Linked DNA regions of Homo sapiens: regions 1 and 3 are each linked to region 2. The links are contacts of gene promoters, found by promoter capture Hi-C in blood cells and fetal thymus (Javierre and others, 2016). All regions are on one chromosome and are shown on one strand. Each heading gives the region's core, a stretch centred on a gene start or on the middle of the fragment in contact. The rest is flanking DNA. Distances are from core to core; before and after follow the strand shown.

Region 1 (2,700 bases), core at 183-2,682, 500 kb before region 2:
ATACGTTCCTTTCAAATATCGTTCAATGCTATTATGAAATAAAGAAAATAAAATTTTGAAATGCAATAGTCTGTATTCTGCCAGATGCACAAAGTAAGGCAACTTTTTAGCCTTTTGTGGGAGGACTGGCAGTAGAGATTAACACTAACTATTTTTTTTTCCTTTTCCAAACAAAATATGACCACAGTATTGTATGGCTTAGTTATTTAACCTAAATTAAATGCACGTAAATAAGCACATTCTATGATTTCACTAGTAAATAGGTGTATTTAAAATGAAATATGCAAGTAACAAATTGATTCATTAGTAACGAATTGATTCAGACCCTCTTTCGAAGTTTTTACAGCAAGTGTAGTGGTTACTAAAGTAAGAAGATAATGTTGAGTTAAATGGCTCAGTTTTCTTTACCATCATTTCCCTTTGTAATTTCCCTCAGTCTTTTTTGGCACAAATAAGATATTTTGCAGTTGAATGTATAAAAGAGAAGCCACAATGAGACTTTATATGATGAGATAACATATCGCCTCCTCTACAGGGCCTTATCCAGATCCAATTTTACAATTTTGAAGCTTCATTATATGACTCTACTTAATTAATGTAACATCTGATTTTATTAGATTTTTCCCAACTGACAAAATCAAATGGTTTCTTTAATGCAATAATAAAACTAATTTAATTTTACATGTATTTTTCTATTTATTCTAGCAGTGTCATAAATCTGAGTTTAGGGATGGCATATTGTTGATCAAAATGCTAATGACAACAATGACAGCCTACCATATCTTTTAATGCCCTCTCTTGGCAGAATTAAATAAATACAACAATGCCAAGTACATCAGACCAGCAATGAAGACTCCCTGGTTCTAACACTGGTTTCCAAGGCAGTTTCCTTACCCATGAAATGATATGATATGATATGATGAGACTACCTACCAGTATTGAAATCTGTGTTCCACAGAGCCCTAAAGCAACCAAGGAGTCACTCAAGCGGCAGAGGAGGTGAGAGACAGTTAACGCAGCTTCGACTTCATCCAGTCTTCTCTTTCATCTATTTTACAGTTAGGGCTACTTTTATTTGGGGAAAAATGGTTTAAGTTTCTAAAACTAGTTTGAAACACCATTAGAAGAAAGATTGGCTAAAGACTTCTCTAATTCCAGAAGCGGAAGGATACTTTACAATAAGATGTAAGTTCCTATTTTGTGTGACCCAAGCCTGACTGGAAAGCTGAATTTGCATGTCAGACACTGATACTGTATGGACTTTGATATGAGAGGAGAAAATCTCACAGCAGTATAAGGCTAGTAACATGATTTGAGACTATCACTTACATTTATAATCCAGTATAGTATGTCATCATTACTTCAAAAACTTTCAGAAAAAAAAAATTTCAATACCTGGTGATATCCCAGGTGTACTGAGAATCTAAAGAAAACAGGAGATAGCTGCATTGTTACATATTTTGAAAACATATTCCTGGGTTACTCTGTTGCTCACCTTCAATTAAGAACCATTATTTATACTACTGTTTTGTGTGTTTTCACTCATTTTCTATTGGATTTCCCACCATAAAATTAATACCACTATTTGCAGTAATCTAATCACCTGGGTTTGGGAAGCAGAATTTTTTTTTTACCATAAAGAACGTTCTTTATAAAGAGTGAGCAGTGCAATCTTAAAAAAAAGGCCTGCTCAGGTACCCAGAGCAGTTTCAAACCATAGCTGAACTTCATTAGTGCTACTGAGGAAAGGCATTGCTAAATTCCTGCTGAAGAAAAGATAACCAGAGTTCCTACTGTGTATCAATCTCAAGTCTCGTCTATGTCAGTTAGCAAAAGCCACTTAAAGGCTTAGCATCTCCTTGAAGGGAATTAACCTGTTTTGACTTCTCAACTGCAATATGCAATACAATGAAGAAAGATAAAAAGTTAAAAGAGCTAAGAAACTGGGTAGTATTTGTTTTACTTGAAGTATGTTTCCCAGGAATATAAATGAAAGTTTATAAACAGTTCTCCTTTCAATCATTACTGTGTTTATATGCTGGAAAATTGGGGAGATGGGTTGATAGAACCCTTTTAATCCTCATCCTCCAAGAAACCTGAGGCCGAGCTGCAAAGTGGAATTCGATGGTAGTCAAAGGGTTGTTTTGGATAGAAACCTGTGCTAGTGGTGTCCACCAAGTCAGCAATTTTGGTGAAAAAAAAGGTGTCTAATACGGCAGCATCTCTGAAGTTATGCTTTCTTGTTTCCAGTCCCAATTTTGTTATTTCCTAGCAGTATGGTCTTTGGAAGCTTCCATAAACCCTCTGCCCCTCAGCTGCCTGATCAGCAAGTTATTAGTGAAAGCTAGTCTTTGTTCCTACCATTGCTACCCAAATCAATCCATCACAGGCCTGACTTTTCAGGCTAGGAGAAATTGTACATACAATAAATTCAAATATTTACTGAGCATGTACCAAGTAATGGGTACTCTATTAGTGCCAGGGAGTGGTGGTTATAAAAAAGATACAATTTCACCTAAGAGAGGAAGACAGGTAAATAACTCTAAACAGGGTGTTAAGTTTAAATACAGTTACACTAAAGTGCTATTAGGGAGTGATTAATTCTGTGTCAGGGAAGAGCTGGTTCAGGAAGAATTCTTGGGGAAGCAGAATGTGGGCAGAATGTTAAAAGAGAGTTGGAAGTAGACAAACAGAGTAGGT
Region 2 (2,733 bases), core at 173-2,672:
GAGGATTGCTTGCTATGGAGAAGAATAACAAGGAGAAGAAGGTGGAGATGGGGCTTACCCCAAAAAGGGGAAGAAATCTAGACTTATGAGAGAATGAAAATGAAGAAAATGACTACCAGCAAAAGCACAAAGGCATGGAAGGACTCATCAACATCAAGAACCCCAAGCAGGTAGGATAGACAACCAGAAAGGTCAAACAAGTGGATCTGGACAGGCTAAAGGAGCTTTTAAGGAGAAAATGCACTAGCAGGAGAGACAGAGCAAGCCAAGGTGGGCCTTGCCTGGCTGGTGATCATCTGGAAACAGTGGGAGAAGGCTGCAAGGAAGAAGGAAGTGGAGAGGAAAGCAAAATATGGTGCCACATTGTTGGGAAAATGAACATGGTTGCTCCCCTTGAATAAATAAACGCCACCTGCAGGAGGAGAGGCCAGGGACCTGGGCCAGAACCTCTGCTGTGTCTCACCTACCCTGTGCCCTGGCTCCACTGCAGCAGCCCTTCAAGGCCAGAAGCCCCATGGCCTGGGACATCCTCTTCATCTTGGCACAGAAATTGTTTAGGGAGGTGTCTGGGGGCGAGTGGGGAGAGAGTGGAGGAGGGACAGCTGTCATCTCTGAGATAGAAAGGTGCAGGAAAGCATTTCATATGTAACAATTTGAATGTTTTTTGCTGTTTTTAGAATTCAGAACCCTTGTTGGAGTGCCTAAGAAGTGGGGTAAGAAGAGCTTCCATTTGTCTGCTAGATCACATGTTAGTGGGTGGTTGTGCCAGGAGGCAGCTGCTGAGGGGTTTGCAACAACCACCCTGGTCTGTGTGCCTGAATGCTTATTCAGAATGGGGCTGTCAGCTGCAGGCTCATGCCCTTGGGTCCCTGAGGGTCATGGCTTTGTCCCTGGCGAGTCCTCTCTGACCTGACTCAATGGAACGAAGGAAGAAAGGAGAATTGCCCAGATGCTTTCTTTGGGTGATGCTGTTTTTGTTAAATTTCTTCCCCAGAAGTCCCTGACTATCTTTCAGTGTCCAAAAATATAATATATAGCCAAACTTACGTGTTTTGAGTCTGAGAGATTAACTATTTTTTCTCTGGGCACATTGCTGCCCCAGATTAAATTGTTTCTTAGTTAGAAAAACAAATGAATAACTAGAGATTCTAGCAGCAGTGTCTGTCACTAAGCGCTAGCCTGAATTTGTTGATGATGCTGTGATTCTATGCTAATTTAATGTATATTACTTAAAAGAAATAGGGAGAGAGAGGCAAAATAGTGTCCTGTCAGAAACTATCAAAGAGAAGCATGTATGTGTAGAAAAAATTATGAAAGAAGTGGTTTTTCTTAGGAAAATCTTACCTTTTTTCTACATGTCCCAGTCCCTACCAGATGTTCCCTTTTGTCTGCCTAGAGACCTGCCAGATTTCTCCAAATAATCCTGACTTCCTGGATACACCCACATAGAAACAGGTCGGGTTCTAGAAGAATTTGTCTGCTCCATGTTCCATCAGAATCAGATTATCTCATTATTTTGGAACAAGTTAATCTGCTGCAGATGAATTAATGAATGCTGCTGAGTTAGCTATTATCATTTTTTTCCTACATATTCTTAAAGGTATGTTTTAACCCAAAGACCCATAGTGACCAATGGCTCACTCTATGGCTGAGCTACACTTTAATTATCACTGTGCGTCAGGTTCCATACATATAAAAATAAACCTAATATTTAATTCAAAGTCATTTGTGAGGGGTTGGGACACCTGAGAATTTTGGATAATGATCATGAACATAGAGTCCAGATTCAAACCAAATGGCTTCAAATTCCTACTCAAACACTAGTATATGACATTAGATGCATTATTTAATATATCCAAACATTAGTTTCCTCACTTGAAAATTGGGATGATAATAGTATGTTCTAACTATACTGTTGTGAGATGAACAAAATAAATGAAATCACGCTCATAAAGAACTTAGGATAGTGCTTGGTATGAAGCAAGTGATCAGCGGATGTCAGCTTTTATTAGCAGTATTTAAGTATAGTTATTTGCAACCAAAAAGTGCTTAGCGATATCAGTTATCATCTTCTACAAATTATAGGAGACCACAGCTTCTGAGATAATTTTATTTTATTTTACATATAGTAAGCTATATACTATTTCAAATAAGTAAAGTCTTTCTCTTCGCAGACTCTAATTGCAGAGTCTAATTTGATTCTTATTTGGTCATCTAATAGCTCTTTGTTCCAAACTGGGGTTTTTATATATAAGGGGTTCAGTGATATACTACTAAAGACAATGTTGATTTTTTTGCATAAAGGAATTCAATAGCAGAAATGCATTTTAATATAATAAATTAAATCTTACAACTTTAATCAATGAATTTTCATATATAAAAATGACCATAAATTATATAAATAACTGCAGTGCTTAGCCAGTATTCAAACTGTAGGTTTCAGAAATCTTGTTTGAAAGCTTAAAATATAGGGCAGTTATGATATGGTATTTGGAGACGATACAGGGTGTGATATAAAGGTTCGACTACAAGGCTAATGTTATAAACTGGTCACATTTTGAACTGCAAATTCTGGTGACTTAATTATTTTTCCAAGAGTTTGCCAAAGTCAATAAAGAACAATTAGCTCAACATCTATGAACTTAAAAAGGACTTAGACATTCTGCTATATTAAAAAGACTAAATGCAGTACTTATCTTGGTGTGTTTCTTGTTTCTACTCTGGGAAGATTAA
Region 3 (2,700 bases), core at 14-2,513, 340 kb after region 2:
AAATTATAAGTACTATGTTATTTTTAATGCAATTTCAAAATTTTATATGTTGCCAACAGTTGGTGTAAAATTACACTTTCCAATAAAGAGAATGGTCTGAATTAATGACTCAGTTAGAGCACATTTATTCGTCAAGTTTTATTTTTACAAAATAGATCCACTAAAATAAGTTTGACTAAGCTACTAAAATAAGTCTGTCTATTAAGCAATATTATTTGCAATTATGCTTTGCTGGTGTGTCATCAAAAGAAAAAAAGTGGCTTAAGTCTTCTAAAAGCTATAATTTTGTCATTTTAAACTTTAAAAATCTTGACTAGCAACTAGCAGATTAAAAATAATTTGCATGAGTTTAGGAAAGTAATTTTTGAAACATCACTTGGGGACTTGAATATACTTACACATGCTAAGGCTTCATTGGAGAAAATAATTTATTTTAACTGACTTTACACGAATCTCCCTACGTCTTACACTTACTTATTTTTTTGTTTTTAATGAAAAAGAAGATAAGGAAACCAGTTAACTCTTTGAGATAGGCTCTGTACGTCAGAGAAATATTGATTATACAGACAATCTGGAAAGAAAAAATTAAAAAAAAAAACATAGAAATACCCCAAAACAAGATAAACATCTAGGGAACCAGAAATGAAATTAGATGTAAAAATAGAAAATAGGATCTAAACTTTAGATTTATTAGACTTTGTCTCCAGTGGCAGGCAGAGTAGATAGGGAGTAACCGAGACTAAAAATGGTTCATAGGGGTGGACACTGAATCCAGGCCCGCCAAATAAAGGGGGCAAAGAAAGGCTGTAATTATTCCCAAGGAAATGACTTCCACAAAGAGGGACACCTAAAGATGTGGGAAAAAAATTAAAAAATCTTCCCACTGAAGACTAGTATGAACCTGCTTACTAAACCATGCTGTGACCTGAGATATCCCCAATAATCCTCCGAAGATTAAAGCGCTGACACTATCACATCTGGTTATATGTAAGGAACTATAATATCCAAATTGAGACACTCAAAACTACAGTCAAGAGAAACGTGAGCACAAGAGAGAGAGAGACAGAGAACAAATGCCACTATAGATGTGCCTGCAAACCCAAATTCCAACACAAATGGGAAATGATTGCTAAGAACAATAGGTAACAAAATCAAAATTCAAGAAGTTGTCACTTCAGATACAATATAAAATGATAGATCTAAGGTGACCTAAAATGACTATATTGCAGATTATCAAAGGCATAAGAGAACACTAGGAAACACCAGAGCAGGATGACATTAAACAGAACTAGTTTCAAATGTTAGATATTAAAAATGTAATATTAAAATCAACAAAATTTAAAAAGAGATTGTTTAGGTTGAAAAGAGACATAGCCAAAGAATGAATTCAAATATTTGCTTATCATAATAAATGCACAACAAACATGTAAGACATAGTAAACTTAAGAGCAAAAACACAAAGACGATCAGAGCCCAATGATACATTTAGAGAAATCTAACATTTTTCCTTCCTTGTCTTCTTTCCTTCCCTCCATTCTTCCTTCCTTTTTTCCCTCCCTCCCTTCCTTCCTTCCTTCCCCCTTCCCCTTTCTTTCTTTTTTTCTTTCTTTCTCTCTCTTCTCTCTCTTTTTCTTTCCTTCTCTCTTTCTTTCCTTCTCTCTCTCTCTTTCTTTCCTTCTCTCTCTCTTTGTTTCTTTCCTTCTCTCTCTTTCTTCCCTCTTTCTTTTGTTTATTTATTTTGAGACAGGGTCTTGATCTGTAGCCCAGGTTTGCAGATCACTGCAATCTCAACCACCTAGGCTCAAGTCATCCTTTCACCTCAGCCTCCCAAGTAGTTGGGAATACAGGCATGCACCACTGCACCCTGCTAATTTTTTTTTTTTTTTGTAGAGACAGAGTTTCACCATGTTGCCCAGACTAGATAGATCTAATTCATCTCTAATAGGAATACATGAGAAATGAAATTGAGAAAGAAGTAAACAAACAATTACCCAAAGAGTTAAGACTGAGAATATTCTAGGATGAATAGAATGAATCTTCTGATGGAAAGCACACATAGAACAATAAGCAGGAGAGACAAGCATTAATCATTATATACATATAAGGGTATATATATATGATATAAGGGTCTTGGTGGAGTAATAAACAATTGCAACAGTAAATAATTGTTGCAAGAATAAGTAATGACAAAGAATTTTACATTTAGAAACATTAGAGGAGATTTCCTTCTCCTTACTGTGTACCCATTGGTTAAAATGCTCCATATGTCCATTTTAAAATATTAAATAAAATGTTCAGAACTTTAAGCAGCAGATAGATATTAGGTGGCTTTTTTCTTCCTTTCATTCTTTTTTTCCCTTTTAGTTATTTTTCTTTTGGAGCTCAGTTTCAAATCACTGAGTTAATCATATTTTAAAACTAAAAAACACATTGCCGTCATTAATCTCTGCCAATCATCCTTTTATTTTTGTCTTTCTTTCATGAACACTATTCTTATTCCCCTCATCTCAAAGATAATTTGCTTGATGCATGCCCTTGAATATAGCTTTTTAAAATATGTAATATGTTTTGTGGATATATGTATTTTCAATTTACCTGTGTGGTGAAAATATCATCCTGTTTTCTACTTTTCTTATCCAGACCCCGATAAGGGATCTTTCAGTGTTGCTGAACACATGTTGTTTTATTCTAGTGTTTCAT

Evidence for each region. The method cuts DNA at HindIII sites, captures the fragments that hold promoters and counts their contacts. A CHiCAGO score of 5 or more calls a contact.
Region 1: a contact is called between a fragment that was not itself captured here and the fragment with the promoter of XIRP2 in region 2, in 1 of 17 cell types (neutrophils). The highest score is 5.3, in neutrophils.
Region 3: a contact is called between a fragment that was not itself captured here and the fragment with the promoter of XIRP2 in region 2, in 1 of 17 cell types (fetal thymus). The highest score is 6.0, in fetal thymus.

What each region holds. Positions count from the first base shown.
Region 1 is chr2:167,385,234-167,387,933 of GRCh38, reverse strand. All of the region lies in intron 1 of B3GALT1 (beta-1,3-galactosyltransferase 1), which reads right to left. Among named protein-coding and RNA genes, the nearest start is that of B3GALT1, 94 kb to the right of the region's middle. The HindIII fragment of the contact is 1,721 bases long and covers 572-2,292 here.
Region 2 is chr2:166,887,169-166,889,901 of GRCh38, reverse strand. XIRP2 (xin actin binding repeat containing 2) reads right to left here and starts at 1,422. Exons shown (of 11, transcript NM_152381.6): 1 at 1,345-1,422. The HindIII fragment of the contact is 3,763 bases long and covers 1-2,461 here.
Region 3 is chr2:166,542,405-166,545,104 of GRCh38, reverse strand. All of the region lies in intron 1 of LOC124906087 (a long non-coding RNA gene), which reads right to left. Among named protein-coding and RNA genes, the nearest start is that of SCN7A, 50 kb to the right of the region's middle. The HindIII fragment of the contact is 7,882 bases long and covers 1-2,700 here.